Linked DNA regions of Homo sapiens: region 1 is linked to region 2. Evidence: promoter capture Hi-C in human tissues and cell types (Jung and others, 2019). All regions are on one chromosome and are shown on one strand. Each heading gives the region's core, a stretch centred on a gene start or on the middle of the fragment in contact. The rest is flanking DNA. Distances are from core to core; before and after follow the strand shown.

The links. The method cuts DNA at HindIII sites, captures the fragments that hold promoters and counts their contacts. A contact is called where the count stands out against the background at its distance.
Region 1: a contact is called between a fragment that was not itself captured here and the fragment with the promoter of ANKRD27 in region 2, in 1 of the 25 tissues and cell types used here (IMR-90 fibroblasts).

What each region holds. Positions count from the first base shown.
Region 1 is chr19:33,045,700-33,051,951 of GRCh38, reverse strand. The region is part of intron 1 of RHPN2 (rhophilin Rho GTPase binding protein 2); the gene reads left to right. It also overlaps the pseudogene LOC124904805. Among named protein-coding and RNA genes, the nearest start is that of RHPN2, 16 kb to the left of the region's middle. RefSeq lists an enhancer at 2,954-3,672. The HindIII fragment of the contact is 8,752 bases long and covers 22-6,252 here.
Region 2 is chr19:32,671,273-32,676,953 of GRCh38, reverse strand. It overlaps ANKRD27 (ankyrin repeat domain 27), which reads left to right and starts at 1,774. Exons shown (of 29, transcript NM_032139.3): 1 at 1,774-1,883. It overlaps RGS9BP (regulator of G protein signaling 9 binding protein), which reads right to left and starts at 1,106. Exons shown (of 1, transcript NM_207391.3): 1 at 1-1,106. The coding sequence starts at 690. RefSeq lists enhancers at 410-459, 1,230-1,339, 1,227-1,846 and silencers at 860-919, 1,490-2,219, 2,240-2,289. The HindIII fragment of the contact is 6,498 bases long and covers 1-3,981 here.

The DNA of each region.
Region 1 (6,252 bases), core at 3,148-5,647, 370 kb before region 2:
TGGCAAGTTCTCGGCTCACTGCAACCTCCGACTCCCGAGTAGCTGGGACTATAGACACACGCCACCACGCCTGGGCTAAGTTTTGTATTTTTTGCTTGAGACAGGGTTGCACCATGTTGGCCAGTCTGGTCTCAAACTACTGACCTCAAGTGATCCGCCCACCTCAGCCTCCCAAAGTGCCATGATTATACACGTGAGCCACCACACCAGGCCTTTGTCTGATTTTAGACAGCCACTTTCTCACTTTGTAAGAAACTTGTAACAGTGGCAGAAATGTCACTGTAGCTGTGATCTGTCTGTTCACTGAACAGATTTCACCTAGGATAACATTCTGAGGCTTTTCTCTGGGCACACATTTAGTTGTTACACCACATTATTTAGCTGTTTTATGAGCTTAAGAACAGTAGTTACAAGCAAGGTGAATCCGCATTGCTGCACTCAAAGCTTTCAGATAGGTGTGTGCCACACTAATATAAACGGTTGCTGTACACGTACAGAGAAACTTCTCTAGTAACGAACTGTAGAAATGATCCCTGGAAGTACAGTCTTCCTGCCTGTGGGCTTTGTCTAGGTGCTGCTCTTAAATACGTGTCTTACAGGTGAACAATCTGACTGTACATTAAGGGCATGTAAGTGACCTGTAAAGAGAGTTTTCACTCTAGGCCAGTGCGGTGGCTCGCACCTGTAGTCCCAGCACTTTGGGAGGGCGAGGTGGGCAGATCACTTAAGTCCAGGAGTTTGAGACCAGCCTGGCCAACATGGCAAAACCCTGTGTCTACTAAAAATACAAAAATTAGCCGGGCATGGTGGTGTGCACCTGTAATCCCAGCTACTCAGGAGGCTGAGACAGGAGAATCGCTTGAGTCCAGGAGGCGGAGGTTGCAGTGAGTTGAGATCATGCCACTGCACTCCAGCTTGGGTGACAGAGTGAGACTCTGTCTCAAAGGAAAGAAAAGAGTTTTCACTCTAGGTAAACTTATTTGAGTTAGTACTTTTTTAGTTGCAGGTGCTAGAAAATTTAATCCAAAATAACTTTGGCAGATAAACACACCCTAGTATGTTCCTCCAATAGAATTCTATCCCACAATAAAAAAGGAACACACAAATTAGCCGGGTGTGGTGGCGGGTGCCTGCAATTCTAGCTACTCAGGAGGCTGAGGCAGGAGAATCGCTTGAGCCCGGGAGGTGGAGTTTGCAGTGAGCCGAGTTCACGCCACTGTGCTCCAGCCCGGGCAACAAGAGCGAAACTCTGTCTAAAAAAACAAAAAAAGGAACAAACTACTGGTAAATGAAACAGCATGGGTGAATCTGAAAACATGGTATTGAGCAAAATAAACCAGACATAAAAGTCTACATCCTATCTGATTACATTTACATAGTTCAAAAGCAGACAAAAATATGTGGTGATAGAAATCAGAGTATTGGTTGCCTGGGGATGATGGAAATGTTCTGTGTTCTGTATTTTGATAGGAGTGATGGTTACGCAGGTTTATATGTTTGTTCAAACTCATTGAACTATATACTTAAAATATGTGTATTTTATTATATATAAATTGTATCTCAATTCAGAAAATTGAGATACAAAGAAGGGAATGAATTGGTTGCTGTAAATGAAAAGTACAGAGGGATGGCTTCAGGCCTAGCTTGATCCAGGGCTCAGATGACATCGCCAAATCTGTTTCTCAGCTCAGCCCACCTGGGGTTGGTTCCCTGTCTAGGGAGACACTCTTCTGCTGGTGGTAAGGTGGCTGCAACTGCTCAGTGTCACAGCCTCCCAGGTTCAAGGCCAATGAGGACCTCTTCCTGATGGGTTTCGATTGACCCTGATCTTCAGGCTTTGGTTTTCCAATGGGCCAGGCAGAAGTCAGATGTTCTTCCCTTTGGAAAGGATGTTGGGGGAGCATGGATTTACACACACACCCCTGCCCCCCACCAGGCCATCATGGGCTATGAGGCGGGAGAGTGGGCTGGCATCACTGTTCCCCCAAAAGATGTGGGGTGATGGTGGGCAGCCATCACCCATGAAGGGGTGTCTGGGGGTTGCATGCATTCCTACCGCTCACACCGCCTCACCGCTCATCCTGGAGCAGCAGGAAGGACAGGGTCTTAAATCCCACCCCAACTTTTACTGCCTGCCTCTAGGATCTCAAGTTGCTCATATAGCCTCCTTGCTGCAGAACCATGGGATCCGAGATGCTGTACCAGGGTCCACATAAGCGGGCCGACCCCAGGAGTTGCCTGTAAAGCTGGTGATGACACGGGGGTTCACTCAGTACTTGCTTTTCTTGGGTGTTGGCTGTTTGCCCACTCTTCAAGTTTCGGGACTGACGGAAATGTCCGAACCTTAGTGTGGGAAGGGAATAGACTCTGTGGAGGAGAAAGTCTCACTTCACTGTAGAACTTGTCAACAGCAGATCCCGAGGTCAGGACAGCTCAGTTGGCCCCACAGGTGTGAGAGGTTTAGCCCCAGTCCCTGGTGCAAACCCTCACTCCAGTCTCAGAGCGGCTTTGTGTTCTGTTGAGAACCAATCCCTGTCTCTGAGTTGCAGAGGCTATTCTGGAAGCTGTTTGTTCAGGGCTAAGGTCTCGTTATTACACAAGATAGGGGGTGGGGTGAGAAATGTATGGGTGGGGATGGTGGACCCGCCACCTTGTCCCCTACAGAGCAGCCCCTGGCAGGGGCTAGTAGATGGCCAATAGTTTCTGGTGATGCCAGGGAGTCTTTCTGACAGTCTTGTCCAGATTTACCTCTCAGGGAAGTTTCCACACACAGCCCCGTGGGTGTTTCTTGTGTTCCCCAGCAAAGCCCAACATTCCTACCTGTCAGGAATAAGTAATGTGGTTTCGGGCCCAATTACTCAGTCAAATCTAACCCTAAGTGTTCCTATGCCTTATCTAGAAACCTGACCACATATCTATGGGCTGGTTAGGGCGTACTGATTCCAGGCCAGCAGAAGTTGGGGAAAGTATACGAACAGAAAAAAAAACATTCTTATCCGTAGTTTGGAATGGCTGCTTATCTGAGCTCTGGGAATGTACGTAAAGGAATTAGTTATTCAAGCTTCCCTGTAAAATGAAACACAGCAGTGGTGATCCAGGTAATTCAGAGTCAAACTGAATCGTCGTCATTTTTGGAAGTGGAAAGGAAAGAGATGAACAGTTATTTTAGTTATTTAATATTTAATTATAATAGCTTAACATTAAAGTTTTTTTTTTTTTTTTTTTTGAGACTGAGTCTCGCTGTGTCACCCAGGCTGGAGTGCAGTGGTGTTATCTTGGCTCACTGCAACCTCTGCCTCCCGGGTTCAAGTGATTCTCCTGCCTCAGCCTCCAGAGTAGCTGGGATTATAGGCGCATGCCACTACGCCCAGCTAATTTTTATATTTTTAGTAGAGACAGGGTTTCACCATGTTGGCCAGGCTGTTCTCGAACTCCTGTCCTCAGGTGATCTACCCGCCTCAGCCTCCCAAAGTGCTGGGATTACAGGCGTGAACTACTATGCCCGGCCAAAGATATTTTAATCTTAAATCTGAAGAAAGACAAAATTGGAAACCGTTTAATGCTTTAAACGATATTAATTTTAAAATCCATTCCAGGGCTGGATGCCATGGCTCATGCCTGTAATCCCAGCACTTTGGGAGGCCGAGGCGGGTGGATCACCTGAGGTCAGGAGTTCGAGACCAGCCTGGCCAACACGGTGAAACCCCATCTCTACTAAAAATAGAAAGATTAGCTGGGTGTGGTGGTGGGTGCCTGTAATTCCAGCTACTCAGCAGGCTGAGGCAGGATAATCACTTGAACCCAGGAGGCAGAGGCTGTACTGAGCTGAGATCGTACCACTGCACTCCAGCCTGTCTACAGAAGCCAACTCGAATTCCGAATATCTGTGCAATTTGAACTTGGGGGAAAGTGTCCTTGCGAGACAGGGAAAATTAGGTTGTGGGGCTATGTGGGGGATGGGTGGTGGTGACCTGATGGGAAATGAGAATGAGAAGTCTTTTATTTTTATTATTATTTAAAAATTTTTATTATTATTTGTAGAGACAGAGTCTCACTCTGTTATCCAGGCTGGAGTGCAGTGGCGCAATTGTAGCTCACCGCAGCCTCAAACTCCTGGCCTCAAGCGATCCTCTGGCCTCAGCCTCTCAAAGTGCTTGGGATTACAGTTGTGAGCTACCATGACCATTCTGGCCAAGAATGAGAAATCTCTGTGGAAGGAGAATACTGGGATTCCTGAGGAGGTTTCCGCTATAGATAACTCACATCTCCCTCCCTGGGGTCCAGGCCATGGGTGTGGCTTGGGCAGAGGTCGGAGAGGCCAGGTGTGTGCAGGCCTGAGATGTGACTCAGGGAGAGAGAAAGGGCAGTCTCTTCACCACGTAATACTACCCGCCAGACCGCTCCCAGGGAGTAACCGCAGTGGGCAGGACCTAGAGATAAGCGGCAAAGAGGAATGTGGGCGTATCCCAGGTCCTGAGGCTTCTACCTGTCTGGGGTGGGAAGAACACCATTCAGCTAAAATGCAGCTTTTATTCTGATCTTAAACTTTTAGCGTGAAGCGTTGTAATCCAAATACCCCAGGGCACAATGGTCAGAGAACACAGACAATTTGTTGAAAAAGAAATTAAAGTGTCAAGATTATATGGAAAAACCTTTACCTTCACTGTTATAATAAACATACAAATTAGAAGAATGAGCTATCTATTTTTGCATGTCAACTTGACAGAAATTAAAAATAATTTTCAACCAGACAGATAAAAAGACAATCCAGTTTAAAACTGGGCAAAGGAGAGCTGGGTGTGGTGGCTCACACCTGTAAGACTAGCACTTTGGGAGGCCAAGATGGGCAGATCACTTGAGGTCAGGAATTCAAGACCAGCCTGGCAAAAAAATGGTGAAACCTTGTCTCTACCAAAAAATGGAACAATTAGCCGGACGTGGTGGCATGCACCTGTAGTCCCAGCTGCTCAGGAGGCTGAGGCAGGAGAATCACTTGAACCCAGGAGGTGAAGGTTGCAGTGAGCCAAGATCATACCACTGCAGCAGTCCAGTCTGGGTGACAGACTGAGACCCTGTTTCAAAAAAAAAAAATGGGCAAAGGATCTGAATTGATATTTCTTCGAAGAAGATATACAGTTGGCCAATAAGTTCATGAAAAGATATTCAACATCATTAACTGTCAGGGAGACACAATTCAAAACCACGATGTGAGACAGCACACACATAAGGTAGCTGTAATAAAAAAGATAGACCAGCACCTGTATTGGTGAGATGTAGATGAATTGGAACTCTCATCCTGTTAGTTGGGTTGTAAAATTGTATAACCACTTTGAAGAGCCTGATAGTTCCTCAAATCATTAAACATAGAATAAATCATATGATCTAGACCGGGCTCAGTGGCTCACGCCTGTAATCCCAGCATATTGGGAAGCCAAGCCAAGCGGATCACTTGAGGTCAGGAGTTTGAGATCACCCTGGCCAACATCATGAAACCCGCCTCTCTACTAAAAATACAAAAATTATCTGGTCATGGTGGTGCACGCCTGTAATCCCAGCTACCCGGGAGGCTGAAGCAGGAGAATCGTTCGAACCTGGGAGACAGAGGTTGCAATGAGCCGAGATCGAGCCACTGCACTCAAGCCTGGACGACAGAACAAGCCTCTGTCTCAAAAAAACAGAATCAAAAATAAAAACAAAACAAAAAAACCACCTGATCTAGACATTTTATTTCTATATTTATAGCCAAGAGAAACAAAAGCACATATCCATATAAAACCTTGTACGCACATAAACAGCCTTATTCGTAATAGTCAAAAAGTGAAAACACTCCCCATGCCCATTGTATGATGAATGATGAATGGATAAAGTACACAAGTGTGGTGTATCTATGTAATGAAATCTTATTCAGGGACAAAAACGGACAAAGTTCTGATACATGCTACAACCTGGATAAACCTTGAGAACATCATGGCAAATGAAAGAAGCCAGATGCAAAGGCCACATATTATATGATTCCGTTTATATGAAATAATCTTGAATAAGCAAACCTGTAAAGACAGAAAGTAGATTGGTGGTTGCCTAGGGCTGGGGTTAAGGGGAAAAGGAAATGAGGAGCGATGCTAATGGCTACTTGCTTTTTTTTTAGGCTGATGAAAATGTTCTAAAATCAGATAGTGGTTGATGGGCGTGGTGGCTCGCGCCTGTAATCCCAGCACTTTGGGGGGCTGAGGTAGGCAGATCACTTGAGGTTAG
Region 2 (5,681 bases), core at 525-3,024:
GCACACGGCTAGGGCCACAGCCGCCAGCAGCACGGCGCCGAAAAGGATGGCGGCCAGGGCCTTCCTGGGGTCGCAACCCCCCCCGCGCTCCTGCAAGGACACGACCGAGGAGGGGCCGGCGCTGACCGTGGACAGGAGCTCGGCGCCCGCCGCCTGCCGGGCTTGCACGGTCCAGCGGGGCACGTTGACCTTCATCTCCATGTTGTCGATCATCTCGCCCACCTGAAGGACCTCGCGCTCCAGCTCCCGCAGGTCCGCGACGTCGAAGTCGCCCTCCGCCTCGAGCCGCAGGCTGCGGGTGCTCAGCGCGCGCGCCGCCACGCCGGAGGAGGCGCCAGCCACACCTGTGCGCACCAGCGGCCGCCGCGGCGCGTGCAGCGGGAACGCGGCGCCCAGCTCCAGCGCGCGTCGCATGTCCGCTTCCAGCAGGTCCAGGCAGCCCGAGAAGGCCACCCAGAGCCGCTCGAACTCGGCGCGCTCGTCGGCGGCCAGGCCCCGGTCGCGCAGCACAGCAGTCAGCCGGGCGCAGGTGGACACCGCCAGCTCCTGCGCCTTCTGGCGCGTCTTTTGCAGCTCCTGCCGCAGGTTCTGCGAGTCCGCCGAGCCACCGACGGTCAGCACCAGGTGGTGGTAGCACGCAGTCGTCTTGTTGAGCCCGTCCAGCAGCGCCTTGCACTCCTCCCTCGCCATCGCGGTGGGCTCCGGCTGGGCCCGGCCGCCCGCGCCCGTTAGCCTCCCCCTCAGCGCGGCAGGATGTGGCTAACCCCCATCCCGGCCTTGGGCCGCGCGGCACGAACGCTCTTCATGGTCCGTGACTCGCTCGGCGCTACCGCCAACGTCCACGGAGCCCGCCCGGGACCCTCGACGTGCGCCTCTGCGGACGGGGCGCGCAGAGGGAGCCCCGTTAGCGGTCCCCCGCTCCCTCGTCCATCCTCCCCAGGCGCACTCCGAGTCACACGTCGTGTCTCTGCACCGCCCTGGCCTCCACGGTGGCTCCCTGCGAAGCTGAGGGTGCGGTCCCCATCCTCCGTGGGTGCCAACTCCGGGGCAAGCAGGCTGCAGAGCCGCGCGCTCCGCCTTAGGCGCTGCCAAGGGCGGCCGGGTAGGGTTTCCTAGGACCCGCCCACCCCGCTCGTCCCGGCCGGAGCTGCCACCCCCTGGATCAGTGGTAGGCGGGGCTCCACGCGGGGAGGTCACGTGTGGGTGGCCCATCCCTCCCTCCCCTTCGCCCCATCCGAGTTCTGGAATGTTAGCGCTCGGGAGATCCAACCCGTTCTATTTTACGGATGGGGAAACTGAGGCCCAGGTAAAAAGCGGGCCAGGCTCCCGCGGAGTTTTTGCCTGTGATGGGACTAGAACCCAGCTATACTGACTCCCGGACCCTGTCGGCGACAGGACGTCGGGTGCCCCGCAGGACTGGGCACCTCCGTGCCCCAAAGCGAGCAGTGACTGGCAATCCGAGGGGCTGGGCGCCGCCGGGGTCAGGTGTCCCTGCCGCGTTGCGCTCACGTTGGTCGGTGCTTCCAAGCGCTAACCCCACCTCTAGTGTCAGCCCGGCTCCCAGCCCCGCCCCTCACGTTCTGGGCACGCGCAGTTGCGGGCGTGGGGCGGGGCCAGCTGGAGTAGGAAGCGTAGGGAGCCGCCTGAGCCCCGCCCCCGGCTGGGCTGGACTCCATGATTGCTCTGCGTACACGTCACTCTGGGAAACGACGGTTTCTCATTGGGTCAGCTGTGGCGCGGCTCCGCCCCACGGCGGAGTAAGGGGTGGGCTATAGGGCCAGATCGCCGCGCGAGGGTGGTGGGCATCGAGGTCCCAGCAGCGGACGAGGGAGGTGCCGCCGTCGCCCAGGATGGGCTGGGAATGAAGCGATGTAGCCTTTTAAGTAAGTGTCCTCGCGCTGGCCTCCTCCTGCGCCTCCCCTCCCGCGGGATGGCTGCGCCTCGGGGCGCGGCGGCCGGGCGGGGCCCGGAGAGTGAGGGGGGAGGGGCTCCCTGCTCTCCGGAGTCCGCTCCCGGGTCCGCCAGGTGGCCCCGCGCCGCCCCAGCCCCCGCGTCCCCAGGTGGGTGCCCGGTGCGCAGCCGGCGCGCCCTGCCCACTCCGCCCCTCGGGTCTGGAGGAGGGGAGCGGTCGGCGCGGAGAATGCACCCTCCGAGCCTCGCTGCGTCGACACCGGCGGGTGTGGCCGGGGTGCCGGGTCCGGCGGTTCGGATCTGGCGGGGCGCGGGGCGGTCGCCGCGCGGTTTCCCGGAGGCCTAGGGTCTGCTGGAGGGGAGCGGCGGGTGGGGGTCCGAGCCGCGCGCGCAGCGGTTGTGGTTTCCGGGGGGTGATGAGGGCGCGGAGCGGGGAATCCCTGGCTGCCGGCCTCTCGCAGGGCGGGGGGGTCTCTGCATTCCCACAGGTAAAGATTGTTAAAGGAAAACTCTTAAGCACCGAGAGATGTTCCGGATTCTGAGTCTGTTCCGTCTTGTGGTTGAAAATGGACTGCCCAGGAGCACACGAGCCACGCGGTGCCCCCTTGGCTGCCCCACGAGGTGCAGGGGACGTGGGCACTCGCGGCCTGTGCTGGGCGAGGGAGCAAGGGACGGGTCTTCGCTGAGGATTTAGAGCATGCAGGGAACGAGGGCTGCTGGCAGTGCTGGAGGGACTGTGAGGCTGCAGAGAGCTCAGATTTTACAAGTTGATGGGTTTCATGGATAGAGGCCCCTATTTTGATTAAAAAATGCACTCTTCCCACTGGCCGAAGAGTAGAGCAGTGGATATTTTTTTTCTTTTCTTTCTTTTCGTTTTTTTCTTTTTGAGACAGGGTCTGGCTCTGTTGGCTAGTCTGGAGTGCAGTGATGCCATCATAGCTCATTGCAGCCTCAAACTCCTGGACTCAAGCAATCCTTTCACCTCAGCCTCTGTAGTAGCTGGGACTACAGGCGCATGCCACTATGCACGGCTAATTTTTAATTTTTTTTTTTTTTTTTTGTAGAGATGGAGTCTAGCAGGTTGCCTAGGCTGGTCTTGAACTCCTGGACTCAAGCCATGCTCTCGTCTTGGCCTCCCAAGGTGTTGGGATTACAGGCACTAGCCACCACGTTTTGCTGAGCAGTAGCTGTTACGTTTCGAGATCAGCCTGGCATGAGGACTGGTGTTGAGGTGGCCTAAGGGTCCGGTGTACTGAGCCCCGGGGCCTGCTGTCACCCAGGGGTCCGTCCTTTAACTGGGTGAGCAGTAGGCTGGGTGTTTGCTGCCAGGGCTTGGGTACTCCTGGCCTTGACCATTGTGTGGAAGGGGGGTTCTCAGCCACCCACACGCTACATAGGGTCGTTCCCAGGGGGATAGTAGTTTTCAGGACAAAATGGGTGGAAAGAGGGAAAATACTCTTTCCCTTCGGGGGAAGCTTTGGAGACAGCAGAGGGTGAGGAAGCTGCAAAGGTGGCCAGAGGCCAGATGTGCCAGGTCCTGAGCACCTAGCAGAGAAGTTGAGGGCTCACCTGGTGGGGAGTGCAGGGGAATCCTTTGAGGAATCCTGCAGAGCTCGGCGCTGGAAAGATCGCTTTGTTGTGTTGCTGGTGGACAGGCGTGAGTGAAATCCAGGGGGCAGATCCAGGAGGCACAGCCCGTAGGCCTTGGAAGGAGGGGATGCAGGATGGGAGCAGGAGCAGAGACTTCTTCTGACCAGCCATAGGGACAGGAATGCACCTGGGGATCTGACATTGGATAGACTTACATTCCCAAGTTACACCCAGTCTTGCCTGGTGACCTGAAATAATCTTGGCCGGCAGCTTCCCTGGGAGGGCAGGCAGAGGTGTCTGCAGAGGGCCGGGGGTTAGGGTCTCCGTTGTGCCTCTTTGTGACTGTTAGACTGTGTCTCCCTCACCAAGACAGCTGCTGGGTCTTTGTTAGTGATGTTTCTGTGTCCCAGTTAAGGTTTCTGTGGCATCTGCCCTGCTGGGGCTCTTCCTGTCTGTCATTTGCCAGCATTAGGTTGGTGTCCAATGACTCCATCCTCTCATAGAGGAGTGGAGGAATGTGACCATGTCATGATAGGTACCAATCCTAGAAAGGATTCAGCCCAGAAGGATCCAGACTTGATTTGTCCTGAGGTTGATTCTCCATCTGAGGAACACTGAGAAGCGGCCCTAGAGCTCCTGCCCATCTGCCCAAGATACTGGTGGAGGGTGCATGGTGGTTCTTCTCCCTGTGGTCCGGGAACAGGGTGATGCGGTGGCATTCGGAGGGGCTGTTGTGCTCCTCCAAACTTTCCCGCTCCCTGCATGGTCCCGCCCTGGTTCCAGTCCTGGCTTCTCTCTAGCCCTGCCCATTCCAGCTATCACTGTGTTGGGCTGGCACTGAGCATCCTGATTGTTTTGGGCTTTTTGCCTTTGTGCTTGCTTGGCTATGACCTGGGGTTAGCCCCTCACCTACCCTGGATATGGACAGTGGAGTTCCAGCTCTTGTGAGAGATGACCTCTCCCTGGGAGCTGGGGCTTCCTCTTAATGCCCCACTATCGTTTTGTTCAAGTGGGTGAGCAGTTACTCCATCTCTGCAGGGAACCAGGCGCAGGGCTGGGTGCTTTAATGAGAAGCTTTGAGAAGAATATGGACAGGATCTCTAAATGTTATAGGTCAGGAGGACACAAGTGACTGTAACAGCATACATACATCACCACATTGCTTCCATTGGTGTGAAAAATAGATGAATAGAAAGTTTTCGTTTTTCGCCTTTTCCTTCTGAATCATAAATTAGACCAAATGGAGAATACTGCTTATCTGTTGGGAAGCGTTCCTGGTCAGAGTGTTTGGTCAGAGCCCCGGAAGGGCGGGAACGGCCATCGCAGTGAGATTTCAGCAGGGAGTGCATCTCTAAGGAGGCTGAATTCCCCCATGCTGAATTCTGCTGAGCTGGGCTGCACGCTGTCACCAGACGGTTCTTGACCACCCAGACTTATCTGGGCTAGCAGGACGGTTGAAGACCACAAAACCACGAGTGTGCACGCTGCTCCCTGAAATACTAGTTTGAGGCCTCACATGGCTCTCCTGTTCATAGAATAACTGCAGATAACTCACATTTAGAGGTATTTGGTATCTCCAGCTAACTCAACTGGATTTTCTGTACATTTTCCCATCATTTGAGCCCAGGCAGGGATGGAATTTTTTAAAAGAAGTTTTATAAGAAGATTCACTTATCTTTCCAGTTTTACAAGAAAAAGTCCATTTTCTTTGCATGTTATTTTAAAATAGCAAACTAATTCTTTTGTTTGTTTTGTTTTTGAGATAGGTCTCACTCTGTTGCCCAGGCTGGAGTGCAGTGGCCCGATCTCGGCTCACTGCAACCTCCACCTCCCAGGTTCAAGAGATTCTCGTGCCTCAGCCTCCCAAGTAGCTGGGATTATAGGTGTGGGCCACCACAACCAGCTAATTGTATTTTTAGTAGAGACGGGGTTTTACCATGTTGGCCAGGCTGGTCTGAAACTCCTGACCTCCAGTGATCCACCCGCTTTGGCCTCCCAAAATGCTGGGATTACAGGTGTGAGCCACTGTGCCCAGCCAGCAAACTAATTCTTGCAGGTAAACTTGACAGGGTATAAAACTGTTTTTTTAAGCATTTACCCTTATGTAAGAATTCAACTCTGGCATTAAGCACCAGATCATATGAGATTATTACTTTTTTTTTTTGGAGACAGGGTCTTCC